Linked DNA regions of Homo sapiens: region 2 is linked to region 1. Evidence: promoter capture Hi-C in human tissues and cell types (Jung and others, 2019). All regions are on one chromosome and are shown on one strand. Each heading gives the region's core, a stretch centred on a gene start or on the middle of the fragment in contact. The rest is flanking DNA. Distances are from core to core; before and after follow the strand shown.

Region 1 (7,436 bases), core at 2,816-5,315:
CCGGAGAGCAACCCGGACCTGGAGCAAGCGCGGGACAGGGTCAGGAGGGCGGGGCAGGGCTGGCCCTGTGACAGACCCGTTCTCTGGCCTCCCCACGAGGAGGCTGCACATAACTCGTCTACCCCAAGCACCTGGGAATTAGTACAGAAGCAACTTTAATGTTTCTGCTCATGCCACTACCATGCATCCGAATCCTGCTTGCCTCTCTAGACCCAACCCATGCCACCCGCTCTCGGGAAGCCCTCTGAACCACTCCCAGTTCACAGAGCTGCCCCGGCTCCTCAATGCTCTCTTACTTTCTGTGACTGAGTCCTGGTCAGAGCTGCTCAGGGCAAGGATGAGGAGGCTCCTGTCACTTGCAGGTGCTCCTCCCCACGATAGTGGCTCAATGTCCTGAGCCAATGACAGGAGTCCCCACCTTAGAGATGCAACCCACTGCTTTCCAAACCCGCTCCCCTACAGATCCACCCCAGCAGAAACCGTGGCTCCATCCTGCTTCCAAGAATGACCAGAAAGGCCACCCAGACACGGGTGTGTGCTGGCATTAGTCCAGGTAAAATGACCAATGTTTACTCTGGGAAGATCAGACGTGCCCCCCGAAGCAATGCAAGGCCCAAACTGTCAGTGGCGGTTCACTGAACGAGCCTCAAACCTTTAGTCCAAGAGGCAGCTCATGATAAAAGATGGGAGATGGAGAGGGAAAGAAAGATGAGGGCTGGGTACAGCACAGGCACTGATTTCAGAAACTGGAAAAACAGCTGAACATCACAGACACTGGGGTGATGCCAGGAGACAGCCTTTTGGTTAGCAAATACAAAGAAACAGAATTCACCAGATTCCTTTGCCGCTCCTCTGGAAGTTCCTGAGTATGCTGAGACAGGAGCTGAGGAATCCATGAAGGGAGAAGCTTCCTCTGTACTCCCCCTACCTTCTCCCCAAAGTAATCTGCAAAGGAATCCACTTCACAATCTTAAGAGTCAGCGATTAGCTATCAGGTCTTATAAATTCTATCTCCTGGCCAGGCGTGGTGGCTCACGCCTGTAATCCCAGCACTTTGGGAGGCCGAGGCAGGTGCATCACGAGGTCAGGAGCTCAAGACCAGCCTGGCAAATATGGTAACACCCCATCTCTACTAAAAATACAAAAATTAGCTGGGTGTGGTGGTACGCGCCTATAGTCCCAGCTACTTGGGAGGCTGAGGCAGAAGCATAGCTTGAATCTGGGAGGCGGAGGTTGCAGTGAGCTGAGATCACGCCACTGCACTCCAGCCTGGGCAACAGAGCGAGACTCCATCTCATAAATAAATAAATAAATAAATAAATTCTATCTCCTAAGTCCCCCTCTGATCCTTCCTCACTCATCTGTTCCTTGCCCTGCTCAGACCCCTTCAGTCTTCTGAATGACCCTCCTCTGTTTGCCAGACAAAGGCCAAGCCCTTTGGCCTGACAGTCAAAGCCCTCCATGACCTGGCCCCAACTCCAGGTGCTCCCAAGCCTTCGCCCCATGTTCTCATGTTGGGCACCTCGGAGCTTCTCCACTTGCTATATTCCTTCCTGCTCCAGCCCTCACACAGCCTGCTCCTTCTGCCTGAAATGTCCTTCTTTATCTGCCTGAGGACCCCTGTTGATCCTTCAGAGCCGAACTCCAATGTCATGGCCAGCACTGCCCCCTGCCCCCATAATGCTCCCACTTTTGTATTCCCACGGCATCTTCCCACTTTTTTGTAATGCCTTGTGTCCTTGCTTCTCAGGCCGTGTCAGATTCTTATCTGTGGCCCCAGCACAGCAAGCACAGGCCAGACAGCAGAGAGCTTGCCAAGTGAGTTACAGAAAGGGGTAAGGCAGTCAGGGCATGCCTTAAGTCACATGCTAAAGCCAGACCAACTCCTCCCTTTTTCTAGAGAGACCGCCAACCTGGAAGCCAGTAGCCTTGCAGCCAGGCCCAGGTTCCACACGCAGCTGAGAGGTGGCCTGGTAGGAAACCCCCCAGGGCTTCTGACTTACCCCCCATTATCCTGTGGTGGTGGATTCAGCTGGGGAGGAGCACAGCCCAGTCCTGAGAGTGGTCTGGGAAGGCTGGAACCTCTACAGATTCTCCCTTGCCCTCTGGGCTTTTTCTGGGGACAGGGTAGAGACTGGAGAGATGGATATGGGGTGATATCCCACCTTCATGAAAAGAAGCAGTGACTATTATCCAGGGGAACGGCGTGGACTGGGTACTCCGAGCACGTCCACACGCTAATTCCCTCGGCCCTGCTCCCCTCTCCTATGAGGACCACATCCCCATGGGCATCATCCTGTGCTCTAAGAGCACAAACCGCAGAGCAACTGGATTGAACCCAGAGTCCCAATTCCTCAGGACAGTGGACACCGAGAACAATTGTTCCTGGTGCCACCAGGTGGCAAACCAGATTTGCAGTCCCAGTGGCTCCCAGGCCCAGGCCACCCTGGCTCTGAGGGGCAGTCCAGAAGAGGCTTTGTCTCCCTCATCAATCACTGCCCAAGACTAGTAAAAGGCGGATTCAAACCCAGGCAGGCTGGCTCCAGAGCCTACACTAGATAGCTACACTAGCCTGCATCAGTTGCGTGGATCTTTGCACCAACCCTGTGTCAAAAGCACAGAATTGACATCAGTAAATTTCTCTGGAAACAGCTATGGAAAAGGATCAGGAAATAGAAATGCTCCTCTGTTACCTTTCCTTTCTTGTCTCATACAGACCTTCGTACTACGAGGTTTGAATCCTCAGCTGCTCTGGTTACAGGACCTCAAAACTGCAAAGGTAACGGGAAGACAACTGGCACCTCCTGTTGTGCTAGGCAGTGCCATGCTCTTTACATGTGTGCGGTCCTTTAATCCTCACACAGCCCTGCAGAGCCAATACTGTCATAACTGGCTCAGTGACGGAAAGGCTGCGGTCGGACAGATGCAGGGGTCTCTGCTCACATAATTACGGAGGACTCCTGCCCAGGTCGAACGCTAGTCCACGCTTTCTATTATATTCCTGTTTTCCCCTTTCAACACCAAGTCTGAAAAATCCCCAAAAGTACAAGTTGTGGCCACTAAATTCCAGAATCTTATGGCACCTGACGGACTTAAGAAACATGAAGGAAATGAGGTGTCATTCACGAGGAGGAGATCCAGTCATGTGTTCTGTGAGAAGACTTACAGGGACACATCTCAAGTGCCCCACGAATGGAGGCAGTCAAATCGCTTTCCCCATTCTGCTTTAGTGAGAAACAAAATTAGCTAAGGTGTGGGCCAAGCTCGCATCTTTCACGTAGGGCCAATACAGCTGCACAGGAAATGGACTAATGCGTGTATAAGGAGTGTCTAGTACGTGCCAGGCAGTGACCAGCCAGGCAGAGCACGGAGCTTCTGTCTGGTGGGTTCTGCTGGTGGCCTGCGAAGGATGGGGGGAAGTGTTAAGGAGGAAGGGTAGGGTCTGAGGCTATATGGATGTGATGAGGAAGGCAGAGACCAGAGAAACGGAATACACGTCCTCAGGGATCAGAGACAAATTGAGAAACACAAATCCATGGTGAGAGGTCAGCGGAGTCAGAGACCCGCATGCAGATAGAGGGAGGCTGGTGGAGAAACACAGACACAACGAAACACATAACGAGAGAGACTAGCAAAGAGGGGATCAGAAACTCACAAAGGGAAGTCAATGGAGAAATACGGACCCACGGGCCGGGGGGAAGGTGCTGGGGGAAGGACGAGTGCCGCGGAAAGGGAGAGGGGGCGGGGGAGGCAGAGACCCACAGGGACAGACAGAAACCGGAACAGAGCGCCAGGGACCCACAGGGAGAACCACACGCCCTCACAGAAACCCGCAGACATGGAGACGTGATGGCCTCGGGTTCCCAGATTCCGCCGGCGGCCGAGAAGGGAGCGGCGCCCGGGAGGACGGGGCCCGGGCCCACCGCCGCCGCTCACCTGCCGTCCTCCCAGGGCAGCTGCGCCGCTTTCCTCCGCGAGGGGAACATCGTGCGGAGAGGCGGCGGCGCATGGGGCAGGCGCTCGCAGCCCGGCCGGCCCGGCCTCCCGGGCCTACGCGGCGCCTCCGCCTCCCGCTCCGCCCAGGCCTGTCCGCCCCGCCCCCCGGTCCGCCGGGTCCGCCGCTCCGGCCGCGCCGCCAGCTCCCGGAGCCGCCGCCTCCAAGGTTCTGCTTGCGAGCAGCGCGGGCGCGCCTCCCTCTCTGGGCGGCTCCTTCCTAGCCGCCCCGGGACCCGCCTGGAAGCCCGAGAAACTGAAGCCCAGAGGCCCAGGGCCTCCCAACAAATCACTGGGCTGGGACTGGACCTAAGAGTCCAGACTCCCAAACCAACGCTCGGGGAGAATCTGCATCTCCGTCCTCTTTCCGAGGGGAGGCGGGAGCGTCCCGGGGTCCCCGTCTCGGCCCAGGCGGCGCGTTCTCCGCGCAAGCTTGGAGGGGCAAAGCCAAGCTCACGGCTCGGCGCTGAGTTCAGCTGACAGCCCGCGCAGGCGTTAGGAGCCGAGCCCTGAAGACAAGTTGACTGAATTTGAAACCCGACTCTGCTTGCCGGGCGCGGTGGCTCACGCCTGTAATCCCAGCACTTTGGGAGGCCGAGGCGGGCGGATCACGAGGTCAGGAGAGCGAGACCATCCTGGCTAACACGGTGAAACCCCGTCTCTACTAAAAATACAAAAAATTAGCCGGGCGTGGTGGCGGGCGCCTGTTAGTCCCAGCTACTCGGGAGGCTGAGGCAGGAGCATGGTGTGAACCCAGGAGGCGGAGCTTGCAGTGAGTCGAGATCGCACCACTGCACTCCAGCCTGGGTGACAGGGCGAGACTCCGTCAAAAAAAAAAGAAAAGAAAAAGAAAAAGAAACTAGACTCTGCCAATTCAGCTGTGTTTTGACCAAGCCACATCTCTGCATCTGTTTCCTCACCTGGGTATATCAATGGCTCCTATTCTATATGGTAGCTGTGGGGATTCAAGGAGAAAGTGCAAACACTTGTGCAGCGCTAGGCACACAGTTCAACGCCATATAAATGACAGCTGTCATCCAGGAAAAGGGTACTTTGGTGGAGCTGAGAACTGAAGAAGGGAATAGGAGACTGAGTTCCCATATCTGCCCCGTCACCGTGGGAACTTAACCATCCCCCTCACCCCCAGCCCCCCCACCCCTCCTACTAGCCTCCTACCTGGGGAAAGAAAGCGGCAATTGTTAGACTTGACCTCCTCTGCTCTTCCAGGCAAACTTTTAAGTTTCCTAATAGATAGCAAACATCTATTAAGTTCTTATTATGTGCCAGTCATTGTTAATAGTTCTTACTACATGAGGGTTATCTCACGTAGTCCTTATCGGTAGGTGCTTATCCCCAAGTTAAAATTGAGAGAACTGAGGCACAGAGAGGCAAATCAGGTAGTTTGGTTGCAAATCTATGGGTTTGGGGTTTTTGTTTTGTTCTTCCCCACAATCTATGATCTTAATCACTCTGCTCCAGAGAGAACTTCACCGTGGGTGGGAAATGAATCATTCCCAGTAACCCCTTTACCCCGTAAACCTGGAAGTATATAATCCACCCATTCCCCTTCCTGTTGACTCCCCCAGGGCACTGCATCCTACCCCAGAACCGTGGTCAATGCACAGCCCATCTAAAGGGGACCACTCCATCCGGTTAGCTGTTACTATATCAGGATGAAGCTCTACTTCAGATTGTCAGATTCACACTCTCAAGAAATCAGATCTCAAATGAAAACCCAAATTATCTAATTTTTAAATGTGATATCCAGCTAAGAGCCATGTTGATAATGACACTTCAACTCTGATCTCTTTTCTACTTTTTTATTTTATTTTATTTTATTTATTTATTTATTTTTTGAGACAGAGTCTCACTCTGTCAGTCAGGCTGGAGTGCAGTGGCACGATCTCGGCTCACTGCAACCTCTGCCTCCCGGGGTCAAGCAATTCTCCTGTCTCAGCCTTCCGAGTAGCTGGGATTACAGGCGCCTGCCACCACGCCTGGCTAATTTTTGTATTTTTAGTAGAGACGGGGTTTTACCATGTTGGCGGCTGGTCTCGAACTCCTGACCTCAGGTGATCCGCCTGCCTCTGCCTCCCAAAGTGCTGCGATTACAGGCGTGAGCCACCATGCCCAGCCTGTGGTCTCTTTTCAAAAACCCACAACTCTAGTCTAATCATGAGAAAAACATCAGACAAATCCTAGCTGAGAAATCGTACAAAATACCTGACCTGTACTCCTCAAAACAGTCAAGGAATCATCAAAAACAAGGAAGGTCTAAGAAACTGTCACAGCCAAAAGGAGCCTAAGGAGACACAGTGACTAAATGTGATGTGGAATCCTGGAACAGAAAAAGGACAGTAGGTAAAAACTAAGGAAGTCTGGATAAAGTAATGCATGATGTTACTAATAGGGAAAATGTCTTCACAATTTTTCTGCACTTTTAAAGCTGTTCTTTAAAAATACTTTTTTTTTTTTTTTTGACATGGAGACTTGCTCCGTTGCTCAGGCTGGAGTGCAGTGAAGTGATCTCGGCTCACTGCAAGCTCCGCCTCCTGGGTTCACGCCATTCTCCTGCCTCAGCCTCCCAAGGAGCTGGGACTACAGGCGCCCACCACCACGCCTGGCTAATTTTTTGTATTTTTTTTTTTTTTTTTTTTTGTAGAGATGGGGTTTCATCATGTTAGCCAGGTTGGTCTCGATCTCCTGACCTCGTGATCTGCTCGCCTTGGCCTCCCAAAGTGTTGGGGTTACAGGTGTGAGCCACCGCTCCCGGCCTTTTTTTTTTTTTTTTTTTGAGACAGAGTCTCACTGTAGCCCAGGTTGGAGTGTAGTGGTGTGATCTTGGCTCACTGCAACCTCTGTCTCCTGGGTTCAAGCAATTCTGCCGCCTCAGCCTCCCAAGTAGCTGGGATTTCAGGCATGCGCCACCACACCTGGCTCATTTTTTGTATTTTTAGTAGAGATGAGGTTTCACCATGTTGGCCAGGCTGGTCTCAAACTCCTGGCCTCAGGCCATCCACCTACCTCAGCCTCCCAAAGTGCTGGGATTACAGGTGTGAACCACCGTGCCCGCCAAAAAACTTTTTTTTTTCATGTGGAAGAATTAGTTGGCAGCATGAGCCCAGATTGCATCATCCCATTAGGGGAAGCAGCCCCCAAACTTGTCTCCTTCTTCCTGGTCTTTCTCACACACTGCTGTAACCTCCCTCACATTTCTTATTAGAAGGTTCTTCTCAAAACTGCCTGCCCATTTGCCTCCCCCAACCCCCAACAGCAGCCTCACATCCCTGATCAATAACACTGTGATTCTGAGGTGCCAGTAGGGCTCTCAGTGGCTTTACCAGACCCTGGGTGATTACTGCAAAGGGCCCAGAGGCCAGAGGGAGGGGGGCAGGCATTTACCCCACCACCTGCTCAGTATTAAGCCAGCCAAGCTGCTGCCT
Region 2 (6,462 bases), core at 1,673-4,172, 590 kb before region 1:
TCTTTAAAAATTATCCAGTCTCAGATATTCGAACAACAGAAAGTGGACTAAGACAAAGTAAAAAAAAGTAAAAAAAAAAAGGGGGGGGGGTGAAGTTAATTTCAATAATATATTTTACTTATTCTGAGATATCCAAAATATAATCAACAAAAAGTTATTGGGATATTTTCTTTTTGTACTGTCTTCAAAATCTAGTGTGTATTTTACACCTAAGCATATTTTAATTCAGTACAGCCACACTTCTTTTTCTTTTCCTCCCTCCCTTCCCTTCCTTCCTCCCTTTCTCCCTCCCTCTTTCTTTTTTCTTCCTTTCTTATTTCTTATTTTCTTTCTTCTTTCTTTTTCTTCTTTCTTTCTCTTTCTTTCTTTTCTCTCTTTCTCCTCCTCCTCCTCCTCCTTCTCTCTCTCTCTCTCCCTCCCTCTCTCTCTCTCTTTTTCTTTCTTTCCCTGTCACCCAGGTTTGGGATGCAGTGTTGCAATCATAGTTTGCTGTAACTTGAAACTGCTGGGTTCAAGCCATCCTCCCACGTTAACCTCCAAAAGTGCTGAGATTACAGGTGTGAGCCATCGTGACTGTCCCTGGCCACATTTCAAGTACTCAATAGCTGCATGTAGCCAGTGGCTACTATGATGAACAGGGCAGATCTAGACCAGGAGTTGGCAAACTATGGCCCATAGCCCAAATTTTGCTTACTGCTTGATTTTATATGATCCCTGAACAAAGAATGGTTTTTACATTTTTAAATCATTGAAAAAAAAATCAGGCTGAGTGCAGTGGCTCACACCTATAATCCCAGCACTTTGGGAGGCTGAGGCAGGCAGATCACTTGAGGTCAGGAGTTCAAGACCAGCCTGGCCTTGAACATGGTGAAACCCCATCTCTACTAAAAATACAAAAAAATTAGCCAGGTGTGGTGGCATGTGCCTGTAATCCCAGCTACTTGGGAGGCTGAGGCAGAGGATCGCTTGAACCCAGAAGGCAGAGGTCGCAGTGAGCTGAGATCACAGTCTGGATGACAGAGCAAGACTCTGTATCAAAAATAAATAAATAAATAAACAAATAAATAAATAAATAATGAAAATAATAATATTTCATGACACATAAAAATTGTATGAAACTCAACTTTCAGCATCCATAAATTAACTTTGACATTCTGTCAATAGCAATCCCCCCAAATTATGGAAGTTGGTTTCATTTCTTGGTATGTACTTACCGACTTCATACCCTCGATTTTGCCTGTTGGCCCAAAGCATAAAGTATTTATTCTAGCCAGGCGCAGTGGCTCATTCCTGTAATCCCAGCAGTTTGGGAGGCCAAGGCAGGTGGATCACTTGAGGTCAGGAGTTCGAGACCAACCTGGCCAACATGATGAAACCCCATCTCTACAAAAAATTCAAAAAATTAGCCAGGCATGGTGGCACATGCCTGTAATCTCAGCTACTTGGGAAGCTGAGGCACAAGAATTGTCTGACCCTGGGAGGTAGAAGCTGCAGTGAGCCGAGATAGCGTCATTACACTCCAGCCTGGGCAACGAGAGTGAAACTCTGTCTCAAAAATAAAATAAAATAAATTAAAAATAAATAAATAAAATAGAGATCATAAGACTGACAAAACAGACTTTTTTTTTTTAGACAGAGTTTCGCTCTTGTTGCCCAGGCTGGAGTGCAATGGCATGATCTTGGCTCACTGCAACCTCTGGCCCCCGGGTTCAAGTAATTCTTCTGCCTCAGCCTCCTGAGTAGCTGGGAATACAGGCGCCCACCACCACATCCAGCTAATTTTTTGTATTTTTAGTAGAGATGGGGTTTCACTATGTTGGCCAGGCTGCTCTCAAACTCTTGACCTCTTGACCTCAGGTGATCCACCCACCTCAGCCTCCCAAAGTGCTGGGATTACAGGTGTGAGACACCGTGCCTGGCTCAAAACAGAATTTTTGTAGCAATAAGATGCCAAATTTCTACCTGACTCTGGTACATCACGTAACAGATAGCAGACCCTGAAGGGCATCAAAATATTTTACCCCAAAATATATTTATTTGACAATATTTTGAAATGGCCCTGCAAAGCTGTCTCCCATGGGGGAAATTTGCATCTGTAGAGAATTTCCATTAATGTAGCCAGGACTTTGTCAGATTTAGGAGAGATTCAATGAGAGTCTGAGACTTTTGAAGGTCTGAAAAGAGACATTCACTATCTATTCTGAGGGCTGCTACCTGGAGGCTTCATCTACGTAACAAGAACCTCAGCTTCCACAACCCCTTTCTTAACCCAAGCATTTCTTCCCACTGACTTCAACGCTTTTTTTTTTTTTTTTGAGATGGAATCTCGCTCTGTCGCCCAGGCTGGAGTGCAATGCAACCTCCACCTCCCTGGGTTCAAGCGATTCTCCTGCTTCAGCCTCCAGAGTAGCTGAGACTACAGATGTGTGCTACCACACCCAGTTAATTTTTGTACTATTAGTAGAGACAGGGTTTCACCATATTGGCCAGGCTGGTCTCGAACTCCTGACCTCGTGATCTGCCCTCCTTGGCCTCCAAACTGCTGGGATTACAGGCGTGAGCCACCATGCCTTCAACTCTTTATTTTATTTTATCTTACTATTTTTTTTGGAGATGGAGTTTCACTCTTGTTGCCCAGGCTGGAGTGCAATGGTGCGACCTCGGCTAACTGCAACATCCACCTCCCAGGTTCAGGCAATTATCCTGCCTCAGGCTCCAGAGTAGCTGGGATTACAGATGCATGCCACCACTCCCAGTTAATTTTTCTATTTCTAGTAGAGATGGGGTTTCACCATATTGGCCAGGCTGGTATTGAACTCCTGACCTCAAGTGATCCATCTGCCTTGGCCTCCCAAAGTGCTGGGATTACAGGTGTGAGCTACTGCAACTGGCCTGTTTTATTTTATTTTTGAGACAGGGTCTCATTCTGTCCCCCGAGTTGGAATGCAGTGTCACAGTCATGGCTCACCATAGGCTCGACCTCCTGGGCTTAAGTAATCCTCCCACCTTAGCCTCCCAAGTAGCTGGGACTACAGGTGCACATCACGATGCCCAATTAATTTTTAAAATTTTTTTGTAGACACCGGGTCTCACTACGCTGCCCAGGCTTGTTGAAAACTCCTGGGATCAAGCCATCCTCCTCGGCCTCTCAAAGTGCTGGGATTACAGATGTCAGTCATTGTACCCAGCCACTTCAACTCTTTAGACAAAGCTTAACTTTTTCAACCAATTGCCAATCAGAAAACCTTTGAATCACCTATGACCTGTAACTCCCCTGGAGTTGTCCTGCCCTTATAGGCTGAAGCAATGTGTACTTTACATGTATTGATTGATGTATTTGCTTGTAACCTCTGTCTCCCTAAAATGTATAAAACCAAACTATAACCCAACCATCTGAGGCACACTTTCTCAGGACCTCTTGAGACTGTACCCCAGGTCATGGTCACTCATATCAGCTGAGAATAAACTTCTTTTTTTTTTTTTTTTTTTGAGATGGAGTCTCGCTCTGTCACCCAGGCTGGAGTGCAGTGGCGCAAGCTCTGCCTCCCGGGTTCACGCCAGAGAATAAACTTCTTTAAACATTTTACAGAGCTTTTTTTTTTTTTTTTTTTTTTTTTTGGTCAACATAGACCATTCACCTGGCCCCTTAACTCCAACAGAAACTCCAGATTTGCCTTTGGAATCAGGAGGCTGAGCTTCCTGACTTCCCAACTCTGGGATTTAGAACAAGTCACTTTCCCTATTGAAACCTCTGTTTTCTTCATCTGGGAATGGGGCAGGCACTCACATAGGTTTGAGGAAGCCACAGGGCTGGTCACTCTTCACTTGTGTCCAGCGTCCCATCCACCTCCCTGGCATGACCTTGCCTCCCCCTGCAGCACTGGCCCATCTAGGGCTCCCCACACCTACATATCTGGCCCTGATGCCCCTCGCCAATCTCTGCCCCCACTGTACCAAAGATGGAGCCCCGCATGGCGACTCCTACATTGCTCTGGGGGCACAGACCTCCATCTGCCTGGAACAGCCTCCCACCTTCCTCATCAAGTCCTGTTTTCTTACAGGAAGACACCCACATGCCCCAGCCATCCCATCCCCAAGGACTGGCCAAGCAGTTCCAGCACACCCCTCGGGTGGTCTCAGTGTGTGCCCTTCTCCAGTTCCTCCGGGTCTGGGCCTGGGTCAGCCCTTTACACACACGGGGTTCCCAACAAGTAGCTTCCAGATGGCCTGGTGAGGCTGCAGGGCAAATTTCCAGGACCATGCCCCACTTCTCCACTCCATCCCCCAAGGACAAAAGCCTCCTCAATTCCGACATCCTAATCCTGCTGCCCCTGTCTCCACAGATCCTCCCCACAGAGAATCCCTGCCTATCCTGCCCAGGCCCTCTGCTTGCTTCTGCCTTCCCAGACCGGCTGCAGTGATCATTTCACCCAGCCATGGTCACTTTCACCATATTGGCCAGGCTGGTCTTGAACTCCTGACCTCGTGATCTGCCCACCTCGGCCTCCCAAAGTGCTGGGATTACAGGTGTGAGCAGCCACCGTACCTGGCTTGACTTCAAGTCTTTATTCTATTTTATTTTATCTTATTATTTTTTTCTGGAGACGGAATTTCGCTCTTGTCGCCCAGGCTGGAATGTAATGATGCGATCTTGGCTCACTGCAACTTCTGCCTCCTGGGTTCAAGCAGTTCTCCATTTCAGCCTCCCGAAAAGCTGGGATTACAGGCGTGCACCACCACACCTGGCTAAATTTTATATTATTAGTAGAGATGGGGTTTCACCATGTTGGCCAGGCCAGTCTCAAACTCCTGACCTCATGTGATCCACCCACCTTGGCCTCCCAAAGTGCTGGGATTATAGGCATGAGCCACCGAGCCTGGCCTATTTTATTTTATTATTTTATTTTATTTTTGTGCCTGGTCGCAAATTTACATTGGACTGGTTAGGCTCAAGCGTCTGGTACACACATTTTCCTTTGTCAGGTCTTGCAAATAAAACTTTGCTCCTAGGGAAGTGGTCCTTCTAAAACGGACCTTGGTTTTGGCTGCCAGATGAGAATTGCTTCCAGCAATGAAGAATGCTGTCCAAGGAGTTCAAGACCACCCGGAGAAACACAGTGAAACCTTGTCTCTAAAAGAAATTGTTTTAGGCCGGAGGCAGTGGCTCACGCCTGTAGTCCCAGCACTTTGGGAGGCCAAGGTAAGAGGATCACCTGAAGTCAGGAGTTTGAGACCAGCCTGGCCAACATGGGGAAACCCCGCCTCTACTAAAAATACAAAAATTACCCAGGTGTGGTGGCGGGCGCCTGTAATCCCAGCTACTCAGGAGGCTGAGGCAGGAGAATCACTTGAACCCGCGAGGCAGAGGTTGCAGTGAGCCGAGATCGCGCCACTGCACTCCAGCCTGGGCGACAGAGCAAGACTCCGTCTCAAAAAAAAAAAAAAAAAAAAATTGTGGGGGAGGGGTGCGGAGGTTGGAGGCGGCAGTGTCCGCTGCAACGGTTGGGGCTGCGCGTGAGAAGGTGGCGGTGTAGGCACCTGTGCTCGGGGAAGGCTGGCGGCGGCGGCCGGGCCATGGCCAGAGACCCCCTCCTCTGGGCTCCCTGAAGTCCTGGGGAGCCGTGACCCATGGGATCGTCGAGCAGCCGGGTGCTGGGCCAGCCGAGGCGAGCCCTTGCCCAGCAGGAACAGGGTGCCAGGGCCAGGGGCTCGGCCCGGAGGCCGGACACTGGAGACGATGCGGCGAGCTACGGCTTCTGTTACTGCCCGGGCAGTCACAAGCGCAAGCGGAGCAGCGGGGCCTGCCGCTACTGTGACCCGGACTCGCACAGGGAGGAGCATGAGGAGGAGGGGGACAAGCAGCAGCCGCTCCTCAACACCCCTGCAAGGAAAAAATTAAGGAGTACATCCAAATATATTTATCAAACATTATTTTTGAATGGTGAAAACAGTGACATTAAGATTTGTGCTCTAGGAGAAGAATGGCGATTACACAAAATATATTTATGTCAATCTGGCTACTTTTCTAGTATGTTCAGTGGTTCTTGGAAAGAATCCAGCATGAATATTATTGAACTGGAGATTCCTGACCAGAACATTGATGTAGACGCACTGCAGGTTGCGTTTGGTTCACTGTATCGAGATGATGTCTTGATAAAACCCAGTCGAGTTGTTGCCATTTTGGCAGCAGCTTGTATGCTGCAGCTGGATGGTTTAATACAGCAGTGTGGTGAGACAATGAAGGAAACAATTAATGTGAAAACTGTATGCGGTTATTACACATCAGTAGAGATCTATGGATTAGATTCTGTAAAGAAAAAGTGCCTTGAATGGCTTCTAAACAATTTGATGACTCACCAGAATGTTAAACTTTTTAAAGAACTCGGTATAAATGTCATGAAACAGCTCATTGGTTCCTCTAACTTATTTGTGATGCAAGTGGAGATGGATGTATACACCACT

Evidence for each region. The method cuts DNA at HindIII sites, captures the fragments that hold promoters and counts their contacts. A contact is called where the count stands out against the background at its distance.
Region 2: a contact is called between a fragment that was not itself captured here and the fragment with the promoter of B4GALT7 in region 1, in 2 of the 25 tissues and cell types used here (lymphoblastoid cells and small bowel).

What each region holds. Positions count from the first base shown.
Region 1 is chr5:177,596,761-177,604,196 of GRCh38, reverse strand. It overlaps B4GALT7 (beta-1,4-galactosyltransferase 7), which reads right to left and starts at 4,065. Exons shown (of 6, transcript NM_007255.3): 1 at 3,937-4,065; 2 at 1-18. The coding sequence starts at 3,986. TMED9 (transmembrane p24 trafficking protein 9) reads right to left here. Exons shown (of 5, transcript NM_017510.6): 5 at 6,955-7,436. RefSeq lists a silencer at 3,713-4,252 and enhancers at 4,433-4,612, 4,813-4,912. The HindIII fragment of the contact is 7,199 bases long and covers 1-6,607 here.
Region 2 is chr5:178,186,466-178,192,927 of GRCh38, reverse strand. It overlaps GMCL2 (germ cell-less 2, spermatogenesis associated), which reads left to right and starts at 5,557. Exons shown (of 1, transcript NM_001358008.2): 1 at 5,557-6,462. The coding sequence starts at 5,629. The HindIII fragment of the contact is 8,651 bases long and covers 1-6,462 here.